Regions from separate parts of the Homo sapiens genome. Here region 2 is linked to region 1. Evidence: promoter capture Hi-C in human tissues and cell types (Jung and others, 2019). All regions are on one chromosome and are shown on one strand. The core of a region is centred on a gene start or on the middle of the fragment in contact, and the rest is flanking DNA. Distances in the headings are between cores, read along the strand shown. Region 1 holds the start of ATRNL1 (attractin like 1). Region 2 overlaps LOC107984272 (a long non-coding RNA gene).

Evidence for each region. Contacts are between HindIII fragments. The study calls those that stand out against the background at their distance.
Region 2: a fragment that was not itself captured here is called in contact with the fragment with the promoter of ATRNL1 in region 1 in 2 of the 25 tissues and cell types used here (H1 embryonic stem cells and pancreas).

What each region holds. Positions count from the first base shown.
Region 1 is chr10:115,089,680-115,095,488 of GRCh38, reverse strand. ATRNL1 (attractin like 1) reads right to left here and starts at 2,124. Exons shown (of 29, transcript NM_207303.4): 1 at 1,446-2,124. The coding sequence starts at 1,738. RefSeq lists silencers at 1,554-1,833, 1,924-2,053, 2,084-2,593. The HindIII fragment of the contact is 15,819 bases long and covers 1-5,809 here.
Region 2 is chr10:115,039,645-115,045,453 of GRCh38, reverse strand. All of the region lies in intron 2 of LOC107984272 (a long non-coding RNA gene), which reads right to left. Among named protein-coding and RNA genes, the nearest start is that of LINC02626, 48 kb to the right of the region's middle. The HindIII fragment of the contact is 7,889 bases long and covers 1-5,809 here.

The DNA of each region.
Region 1 (5,809 bases), core at 875-3,374:
AATTTAAATCATAGACTCTACCTAAAATTTTAAAGTGCCATTTTAAAAATATACATTTTTACATTGAGTTTTAAGGGACATTTATTTTAATCAGTAATAGTAAGTTTTTTTTTAAAAAAAAAAAAAAAGGAAAGTATGCTGTGTTTAAAATTCCAGGAAATTGTCCTAGAATACATTAATAAGGTGAACCAGTCTTACCTTTGCCTTAGAGCCCAAGAGAAATTTCACCTAGATTTTGGCTATCAGCCTAACAATATCAGTAATCTACAATATTCAAGAGCCACAAACCAGCCAGCAAACTTCATATTAAGTATCTAGAAGACTAAGAAGCTGACTTTCTTAATGACTGTTACCTGCATGTTGTTAGAAGCCTGCCCCAATATTAAGTGACTTTTGCTACTCCCCTACACTGTGACCCATTGCTTTTTATATCAGGCAAGAATGTAATAAACACCAACCAGTACGAAGAAAGTACCTTCACCTTAGCAAGCAAACTTCTTAGGCTCCTTGAGCTTCAAACAAGCCAAAGCGATGTTCCCGCACAAAAGCTGACAGTGAATTAACCGATCAGAAAAAAATCCATTATCCTCACCACATAAAAACGTCCTTCTATCTAACCTAAAGTCACCTTTGTATTTCTCAATTCAAGATTGTCCTAGCAAATACAACACAGCAAATTCGTTAAAAGTACACATTCTGGAGTGTGTACTGGCTCCAGAATGTGCCAGCTGATTTGGAATCATAACTCGGCCCTTACTACTGTGTAATCCTGGCCAAGTTACTTCAATGTATCGCCTCGATTTCTCTCCGTAAATCCAGCATAATAATTCTAGCAACTCACAGAGTTGTTGTAGGGAATAAATGAGAAAATTGACATAAAGCGCTTAGAAGAGTGTTTGGCACTTAGCAAGTCCATCATAAACTCTACTTATTAACATCACTATGATGACTAAATAAATGTTAGAAGGGGTCACCTCTAGAGAGAAGAGAATGGGGAAAGAGAGAGGCACTCATAGATCATAACTGAACCTTTACACTTTTGTGAATTTTTCACAATGCGCATGTATTTCATAAGTAACTTGGACAATTTCTGATTTTTAAATATTATCCCAAGAAAATGGTGCTGGGCATCATAACTGATTGTGAAAATGTTCGTGCTGAGCAGCGGATCAGAAGTCGCTGCGGACATCTGGAACGCTCGAGAAATGCCTAGCTCCCCGTTGGTCAGGGCTCCGCGCGGGCCCGAGCTCTCCCGGGGCGCCCCGGGGCTGGAGGGGGCGCGGCGCGGGCCCCACTCTCGCCCGCTCCCGCCGCGCGCTGAGGTTCACTCACGGCCGGGGGATCAGAGGCAGCGACGGGGGCGGGGGAGGCCGCGAGGGGGGCGGGGAAGGCCGCGACGGGAGCGAGGCAGGGCTGGAGGTTCGGGGTCCGGCGAAGGCACTTACTTGAACCTGCCCTGGCAGTGCTGGCACTGGTCCCCCACCCAGCCCGGGTCGCAGAGGCAGGTGGAGTTGACACAGCGGCCCGAGAAGCAGGAGCCGGTCCTCTCGCACGGCTTGGACTGGGACACCTGCGCGTAGAGCGCCAGGTAGAGGAAGCCATAGCACAGCAGCCAGCTGTTCCCGTCCAGCAGCCAGGAGGAGGCGCCCCCGCCGCCGCCGCCCGCCGGCCGAGCCCTCCACACCCCCGGGGCCGCTGGCTGCGGGGTACCAGTGCGGGCCCGGCCCCCAGTCTCCATCTTCCCCGGCGCCCCTGCCCGGCGAGACTGCGCTCGCGGGCGCCGACAGGGATGCTGTTGAAGGGAATTCCGGCCGCAGAAAACCTCTCCGCCGCCGCTTCTCCTCCTCCTCACCGGCGCCCGTCCGAGTCCCGCTCCCCGGTCAGGAGGGACAGATCCCAACCGCCGTCGCCTCCGCTCGGCTGCCTCCAGTCGCACTCGGGCATCGCCACCCAGTCTCCCGACCTTGTCCTTAGCGGGCCGACCCCACAGCCGCGGCGTCCCGGACCCGGCCGGAGGCGGGGAGCGGGAGGCGCAGACTGCGCCCGGCGCTCCTGAGGGGACCTGACCGGCAGGAGGAGGGGACCCCGCGCGCGGCCCCGCCTCGCCCGCGGCCCGCGCCAACTGCCTCGGCTCCGAGCGCCGCGCGCCCAGGAGGGCGGGGGCCGAGCGGGCGCCCCGAAGTGGGCGCGCCCAACGTGGAAGGGGGCGATCAAGGAGGCGGCGGTCAGCCCCGCCTCGCCCGCCCGGCGGTCAAGGGCGCCCCGGCAGCCATTCTGTCTCCGGTGCCTCGAGCCGGCCGCAGCGGCAGCGCCGGGAGCCCACGATGCGTGGGGCCGCCCCCCGCCCTCGCGCGCGCCTACACTCCTCCCCACAGGCCCGGCGCCTTGGTCTCGCCCCGCCCCTGACAGGGACCGGGGACTCCCCCACGCGCGCGCGCCCACCCCGCCTGGCCCGCGCGCTGACTGGAGACAGGCCCCCCAGGTGTGGCCCGCGTGCCCTTCCCCCCGGCCGGTGCGGGCACCCCGGCCCCACCCGCACCCCGCGCCCCGGGAGCCCCACGAATGAGAGATCGACACAGGCTTCGCAGCTTCAGCAGAAAAGAAGTCCTTCCCGTCCGCCGTCTGCAGCTGCAAAAGTGCAACGCTTTTTCCCTAGCGCTTCCCCCTTCCTCCGCCCCATCCTCCTGCCTATTTCTTCTTTTTCTCTTAAGAGAGAAAAACTCCAACAACACACAAAGAGCTGAGCATGTGCAGCAGGCAAAAGCCTTAAAGGCACCGCAGTCCGACCACGTTGTGGGGTCAGCGAGGGCTGGGAGGGGCGGGGATTGGGGACTGCGAGAGGCGCGAGGCGGTCTCCGCGGAGGGACCTCCGAGGGGGAGCCATTGCTGCCTCGGGAATAACGAAGCCCGCGCCCCCAACAAAGAACTGCGAGGCTCCGAGCCCCGCGCTCTCCACCCCTTACAGACGCTGCCTCGAAACCGCACGTCTCTCCTTTTCTGCTTGTCAGTGCTCCCTCCTCCATCTGGGACGATATTCTGCCTTGAAAAATATTGCAGCATCGGGGCTTTTTTTCAGAAGAGCAGAAGTGATGCCCACAAAAGGGCCGTTTTCCTTCCTCAGCAGCACTTTTTCTTCTTCAGATGACTTTCCAAGATTGGCTGGCATATTCTGAGATTTTTGTTTTGTACTTTGGTGCCTTCTCTAAACAGTTGCCTTTTTATTTGACCCCCTTGAGAAAGGAAGCCAAACACACATTGCAGCCATATATCCTCGAGTTACAGCAATGTTGCTGGAGTCCCACCAAAGAACAGGCAGTATGAAAAAGAATTCAAAATCCACCAAAGGCACTTCTCACAGAAAAAAAAAAAAAGAAGAAAGAAAAGTTTGTTGTAACTACATAGTCAAAATATTATTGTTAGGATTCAACTCGTGTTTATTTCGCGTCAGTTCTTTTCATGTCTCTTATCCCCACTTGCAGATGAAATCCTCCATTAACCCCATTTTGCAGATGAGAAAGAGCAACTCAGAAAGGTTGAAATATTGGCCAATGGCAGGTTAGGAGTAATGAACTGAGCTTTAGACACGAGGCCTCTGACTGCTGTGCTTTTTTCACTGCTTCTATTAGCAGATGCTTTGTTCTTCCTTCGGTGAATAAAATATACGTGTTGGCTTGGTTTAAAAATACCTCAGCAGTGACTTAAGGAGGAAAAAATAAAAACAAAGATCCAGAAGGAGTTGGCTCCTTCGCAAGGAAAAGAGCAAAAGGAAAACCACGATTCTCGTTGGCATACAGAACAAATCATAATTTCCATAATTTCAGGGTTTTACCAGTATCAAAAATGTCCTTATCAAACCTAGAATTAGGATGCCCTCTTCTTCCCTTAACATCTTTTCCACATCAGGCTGCCCCTTAGAGACTTCTTGAAATGAGTGAAGAAGCAGAGGAGAGAACACTGCAGACACCAGTTAAAAGGAAGATCCTGTTCTGGATCACATCTTTTCATTTCAATGACTGTGAAATCCAGAAGAATTCTTTCTAGTGTCAGCCATGCATGAACACTGTCTGCTGCTTTTCCATTCTTCTCCATCTGCCAGCCAAAGTCAGCCGCATCTTTCTCACATCTAAGGTAGAGTCGCTTTCAGACGTGGGGAAAGTGGCCAAACTCTTAAAACCGTCAGTGAGTGTGAAGGTAATTCAAAGGGTGCGCTGTAGTCCCTTTGACGAGAGAGATCACAGCTCAGTCACATACTGACTGTAGCCTGTATTTGAGCAGAGCTTGCCCATTAAAAATATACTCATAAGTGGGAGTTGAACAATGAGAACACATGGACAGAGGGAGGGGAACATCACACACCAGGGCCTGTTGTGGGGTGGGGGGCTAGGGGAGAGATAGCATTAGGAGAAATACCTAATGTAGATGACGGGATGATGGGTGCAGCAAACCACCGTGGCACGTGTATACCTATGTAATAAACCTGCACGTTCTGCACATGTATCCCAGAACTTAAAGTATAATAATAATTTTAAAATACATATCTTTTAATTGAATAACCACTATAATCAGCTCAGTACTTCACATTACACTGAAGAACATGCAGCCCCACGGGCCTCCTCTCAACATTGCCTTTAGAATCAAGCTGAATATATTAAATTTATATGAATTATTCTCACAAGGATCTCAGAATTTTCACTCACCTTGTATTTTGTTTCTCTCTCAAACACTTTTAGTCAACACTTACTGAGTAACTATTATGAATTTAAGCAAGAGAAAACAAATATGAATAAAGCATGATTTCTACCCCAGATTAGCTTATCTTCTATCAAGCTCACTAGACTGTGAGCTCATTATACAGTTGAGTGTCATATACTTTACAAATGTAGACACAGAAAACTTAAATTATTTTATATGGTCACACAAAAACTCAATGGCAAAGTTTGCCTAGAATCATGAGTTATGTTTCAGTACCTTCTATGATCAAGAAATGTTAAAGCTCCAACATATTTTCTTTTTTTCCAATTAAGTAGGGTCAGCCTCCTAGAAGTGCTATATCATACTGAAATAATTAATAGTATTGGTAATAGCAGTCATAAATCTAGCAAAAAGGTGAAAATTTACTCCAAAGCCATACTGGGGGAAAATTCACCCTACGGAAGTAGGATGAAACTGTTAAGAATTATCTATTTTAAATTCATCCAAGGGGAAAGATAAGAAAAGACTATTTGTTTTCTTTAGCCTTATATCAGGACCGTTAGATATTTTGAGGTGTATGTTTCATTTCCATTCATACTACTTAACAATGATGTTATAATATGATGGGCAAAAATCTGACATCACATCACCAGATTGTTTAAAGGAAATTTAAGTGATTTTTTAAGAGAACAAGAGAAATGATAGATCCAATATCTTTTGATTGCTACTCAAAAAGTAAAAGATCCTATTTGGGCTAATGAACCAAAGCAGACTCTTTTCAGTTGCTTAATTTAAGAATCTCTGTTCTCTGGTTATTGTTCACCCTTTGGCTTATATGAGGCTTCTGAAAGCAACCAAGATAATGAGAACTACAGATAGCGTGGCCTCAAAAGCTAGAAATGCATTCACTCAAAGGGACCCACAGCGAAACTGGGGCAGTATTCTTAAGACACAAATAGATGATGAATGGTCTGTAACGTTAGACAGTTTAAAAAAACAACCATCAAATTTAGGTACTTATTAAAAAATTATTGATGATATTTAAAATGTTTATATGGCTATGGATCTGAAACACCACCACCGTCCCAATCAAAATCTAACATTCTGCTTTCTCTTG
Region 2 (5,809 bases), core at 2,026-4,525, 51 kb after region 1:
CTGACCTGGGAGAACCTACTACAGCTTCCGAAAATGGATGTTTTATTAAAATAGCTTAAGTTTAATGTATCACATTTGCACAATAACAATTAGGAGGCAGTTCATTTTCAAATAGTGAGGGCTCTATGAGTACTTACTCAATTAAAATGATAATTTAATTATCTTCAATTGCCATATATGATTGGGGGAATCTATTTAAAGTTTTTGCCCCATCCCCACTGTTCTTCCCTTTGCCTTCTTTTTAAAATACCACATATTCCTGGTGAGTATTCATTTTGCCCTGTTCAAGGGTGATACATCAACTTACTGATCTCCCCGGAATGTTCATTTCATGGATGAATGAAAATAGTGATGCTCATTGTATTTCAGGTGCTTTACCCCATCTAAATGATGAGCAGCTTTATGAGTAGGGGAACTTAGAATTGTGTTATTATTCAGATCTCCACAGTTACTAGAAAGCCTGAGTAACATTCAGGAAGTTCCAAAATCCAGGCTTTATGTTGTTGGGAGTCCCTATTTATCAGGAGCCTGGGCCAGTCCCTGGAGGCCCAGGAACAGCCTGGAGGCAAATGCATAGGTACAGCATTGTGTCTGAATTTAGGATGAGGAGGCTCAGTCCTCAGGCTTTGGTGAAAACCCCCCTTAATTCTGGTCACTCTTAAAGATACCCCACTAATACTGACTGGTACAGGCTTCCATCGTATTGAATGTGTGCCACGCGCCTAGCACAGCCCCTGGCCCATCATAAGCACTCAAATATTAGCCATCATTTTGCATTCTTTTAAGACCATGCATCTTCTCCTACTTCTAATCAAGTTTCCACTGCTGCAACATAGACGTCCTCAGGTTTCTCCCCTGCTCAAAAACGTTCAGTGACTATTAGTTCCACCAGTGCTTCTCAAAGTGTATCAGAATCACCTGGGTTTTTTTTTTGCACAATTGCAGATTTTCAGGCTTTACTCCAAACCTACTGTATTAGACCCTTGAGGAGTTGGGTCTGGGAATTTGAATTTATTAACAAGCTCCACAAGTGTTTCTTACATACTCTACCAATAATTTGAGATTCCCCGACATGTTGCACAGTATGCACATACCTTTACATGGCATTTATTACCCCTTAAAACCTGGCCCCAACCATCCATCCAGTCTTATTGCCTGCCATACAGTATTATTGACACTCCCTTATCAGGAAAACTTGTGAAAGACTTTGAAATGAGAAAAAAACATCCTGGATGTGGATATTGTATCTATCATACCATTGTGGGTTATATCTGCCTTTCATTGTGTTTGAGTTATTTTATAATTCTGTTAGTTGTAGAAAAATTGGTAATGATGCAAACAATTCCTTCTGTAGAAAAGCAACTGAATTTTGTTATGTGAAATGCAACTGATTATTTCTCTGTGGATAAATCAGTTTACATCTACTTTTAAATTCATTTCAGCATTCCTTATTGCCTACATATGTGCATGGATTTATTTGAATTATCCTTTGAACTGGCTGTAACATCTTACAGGTTCCCTCATTAATTAATAAATTAAATAAGATCTTTGACACGTGTTCATTTTATATTTGCATGAGGTTATAAGTTTACCTTAAAATAATTATTCTTTATACGCTGAACTACACTGTAGTAGCTTCAGACTCTCTGCTGTGGTACAGTTTCCTTTCCCTCCTTGCCGTGACCCTCCCGTTTCCCTGACCACCAGTTTCTTTGGTGAAGTCCCTCTAACCCTTCAAGGTCCCACAGAGTTGCCAAGTGTCAGCTTCTCTGTCAAGCTGTTCTTCATCCATCCTTCCATCCCCAACTGCCCAACTCAGACTCAGTACCTCCCAACCCCTGACTCACATCTTGTTAGAGCATTTCTCACACCAGATTCCTGTAACAGTTGCTTCAAAAACTGAGAATGCAAGCATGGCCATTTCTCTACTTGACCTTTCTGTACTTCAGTTTCCTTATCTATAAAGTGGAGATAATAACAGCACTGACTTCATAGGGCTATTGTTAAGATTAAATGAGTTAATCCATGTAAAACACTTAGTGTATTGCCTGGTGCATAGTAAGTGTTGAATAAATGTTACCTGTCAATATTCTTGATTATATTTTCCTTTCCTTTTTTTTTTTTTTTTTTTGAGACAGAGTCTCGCTCTGTCACCCAGGATGGAGTGCTGTGGTGTGATCTTGGCTCACTGCAACCTCTGCCTCCCAAGTTCAAGAGATTCCCCTGCCTCAGCCTCCTGAGTACTGGGATTACAGATGCGTGCCACCACACCAGGCTAATTTTTGTATTTTTAGTAGAGACGGGGTTTCACCATGTTGGCCAGGCTGGTCTCGAACGCCTGACCTCGTGATCCACACCCCTTGGCCTCCCAAAGTGCTGGGATTACAGGCATGAGCCATCGCACCTGGCTATATTTTTTCTAATTAATTGCTTGATAATCTACATGTCTCAGATGCAAAGACTACTACTGTCTACAAAAACTGTCTTCCTTAGATTATATTTCCTGGCCCTGCTTCCAGCTAGGTTTGATCAGAAATGCCCTATGTGCATCTCAAGCCTGGTCCATAACAATTCCCACATGTGCTCCTCCAAACCATTCTCTGTTTCCTTAAGGCTGCAATGGAGACTTCAATGACTGGAGTAACCCTGAAAGCCACAGATCAAAAATACAGATTTCCTACTGTGTCTGGAATTTGTTCCTTCCGGTGGGTTCTTGGTCTTGCTGACTTCAAGAATGAAGCCACAGACCCTTGCGGTGAGTGTTACAGCTCTGAAAGATGGTGTGTCTGGAGTTTGTTCCTTCAGATATTCAGGTGTGTCCAGAGTTTCTTCCTTCTGGTGGGTTTGTGGTCTCACTGACTTCAGGAGTGAAGCTGCAGAGCTTCGCAGTGAGTGTTACAGCTCTTAAAGGCAGCACATCGGGAGTTCTTTGTTCCTTCCAGTGGGTTCGTGGTCTGTTGACTTCAGGAATGAAGCCACAGACCCTCGCAGTGAGTGTTACAGCTCATAAAGGTAGTGTGGACACAAAGAATGAGCAGCAGCAAGATTTATTGTGAAGAGCAAAAGAACAAAGCTTCCACAGTGTGGAAGGGGACCCGAGTGGGTTGCCACTGCTGGCTCGGGTGGCCAGTTTTTACTCCCTTATTTGACCCCGCCCACATCCTGCTGATTGGTCCATTTTACAGAGTGCTGATTGGTGCATTTACAATCCTTTAGCTAGACACAGAGTGCTGATTGGTGCATTTACAATCCTTTAGCTAGACACAAAAGTTCTCCAAGTCCCCACCTGACCCAGAAGCCCAGCTGGCTTCACCTCTCAATCCCCCCTCCAAACAGGACACCCCAGCTGCTGTTGGGATTTGGCGATGACCGCTGTAGCTACTTCCTGCTGGATAGGGGTGAAGAAGGGGCCCTGCAGTGGTAGTGTCCTCCAGAGGGGAGCTCTTTAGGCCATTGAAAGGGCCAGCGGGTCGGTCCAGGGGTCCTCAGCAGAAGTTGTTAGTTGAGCTCATTTGGGGTTACATTTGTAAGATCATCTGTAGCTTGATGGCCTCGATCCTAGAGGAAACAAATTTGACCAAGAGGTTAAAAATACAGGGCCCAAATGCGACTATTAGCAAGATGGCTGTCACAGGACCTAGAAAGGGGAGAAGCCATGTCGCCCAACTCCAGAGGTTGGTATAAGAGTTTGAAAGGCATTGTCTGATTTCAGAAGCCTTTTCCTGTAAACACTGGGTGGTATCTCATACTATCCCTGACTGGTTAGTATAAAAACAACACTCTACCCCTAAGAAGGTGCAGAGTCTTCCTTTCTCAGCAGTGAGGAGGTCTAGGCCTCAGCGGTTTTGGAGAGTCACTGCTGCCAAAGAGTCTATTTGGGATTGTAGAGTAAGGACAGATTTCGTCTCTTTTTTGCAAACTGTCTGAGAAATCCTTTGAGAGAGTGTGTGGTAGTAGGATAATACATGTTACGCTGTTAACTTTTAGCAAACTTTACTTTAGTTGAAAACCTTGTAAGTTTGAGATTTTAATTTTCTTTGCTATTAATAAAACCTCGTTCAGTCCATATTAACTTAGAATTGGTATAGATGGCTCCTTCCTGATTCTGTAAGTACTTTAAGGTTTAGCTGAGTGCAAACAGCAAACAGCTTCAACGTTTGAGCAGACCACTTATTAGGCAATTTTCCTAACTCTGCTTCTATAAGAGTTTCCTTATCACTTACTGAATACCCATTGTGTCTTTTTCCTTAATCACCTGGGAGGAACCATCTATCATCCTGTCCTGAAGGCAGTTCCTCCTATGTCTGGTCCGACCTTAAGATTTAGATTCCCTGTTAGGAAACCTGCTGTGTTAAGGATTTTTGATAAGAAGGCTACGGGTTGTCAGTGGCCTCAGTGCTTTTGGGCTATACCCTTGTTTACACTGACAACAAGGTGGTATTGGAGTATTATAGGGTTACAGAAAAGGCCTTCAATTATCAATTATAGGTTTTAAATTTAACCTGGCTTTTAAAGGAATAGGGTACACTGTTTTTTCTTTACTACTTCTCTTTCCCTCTCTTTGACTCCTTCTTTGTCTCTTCCTCTCTTTGCTTCTCTCTTTCTGTCTCTCTGTCTCTTCCTCTGTCTCTCTCTGTCTTTCCCCCTCTCTCTCTCCTCTCTTTTCTTTCTGACTCCCTCTTTGCTATCACTTCCTATCTCTCTTTCTCTCTCACTTTCTGCTCTTTCTCTCTTTCCTTTCTGCTTGTCTTTCCCTGCCTCTGCCAGCCACTTATGCTGCAGTTCTCCCCTCTCCTTCCCCTTTTGATGGCTTCGGCAATGTAAGACCGCCACCTCCTTGGGTTTTTGCACTGTGTGCAATAACTCCATAGTTTCCTTGTGATATTTAATGGGGGTTCACCCAGAAGTTAGGAATTCCCTTTCTTTCCATATCGCAGCATGGGCATGTAGGATTAGGTAAGCATACTTACTATCTGTAGCAAAGTCTCCCAGTTACAACTGAGGAGGTGGGAGAAATACCTGGATATAGGCTGTCCCAGGATTCCTCGGATGGTAACAGACCTTGAGGACAGCTGTCCAGGACAGGAGGTTAACACTGAGAAAGCCGCACCAGTGTCCAGTAGGAAGTCAATTTCCTGGCCCTCAATGGTTAAATGTACCCAGGGCTCAGTGAGGGTGATGACATGAGCTGGCGCTAACCCTGAGCACCCTCAGTCCTGTGGTTGGATCATCTGCTTGGGGGCTTCTGGCCCAGATAATCTTTGTCCTTTGGGGCAGTGTGGCTTCCAGTGATTGCTTCAGCATAGTGGACATGGGTGAGGGGGCAGCTTGTTTCTCATAGGACAATCTTTTTTAAACTGTCCTTGCAAACCACACTGACAACAAGCCCTACTGGGTGATTGGCCTGCTCCATTTTCTGTCCTCTCTGAACCACCAAGGTTTGTTTGTCTGAGGGCCATGACTAAGGCTGTGGCCTTTCTCTTATCTCGCTTTTCCATTTTGGCCTGCTCCTCTTGGCCCCTATTATAGAACACCAAGGTTGCCAGGTTTAATAATGCCTCCAGATTTTGTTCAGGGCCAAGGGCTTGCTTTTGGAGCTTTCTCCTGATATCTGCAGCTGATTGAGTAATAAACATATCTTTTAGAATCAATTAACCCTTGAGTGAGTTGGGTGACAGGGGAGTATATTTTCTTAAGGCCTCCTGTAGCCACTCAAGGAAGGCAAGACTTTCTTCCTTTTCCTGAGTTATGGTGGACATCATTGAATAATTCATAGGCTCTTTCCTAATTCTCCTTAGTCTTTCTAGAA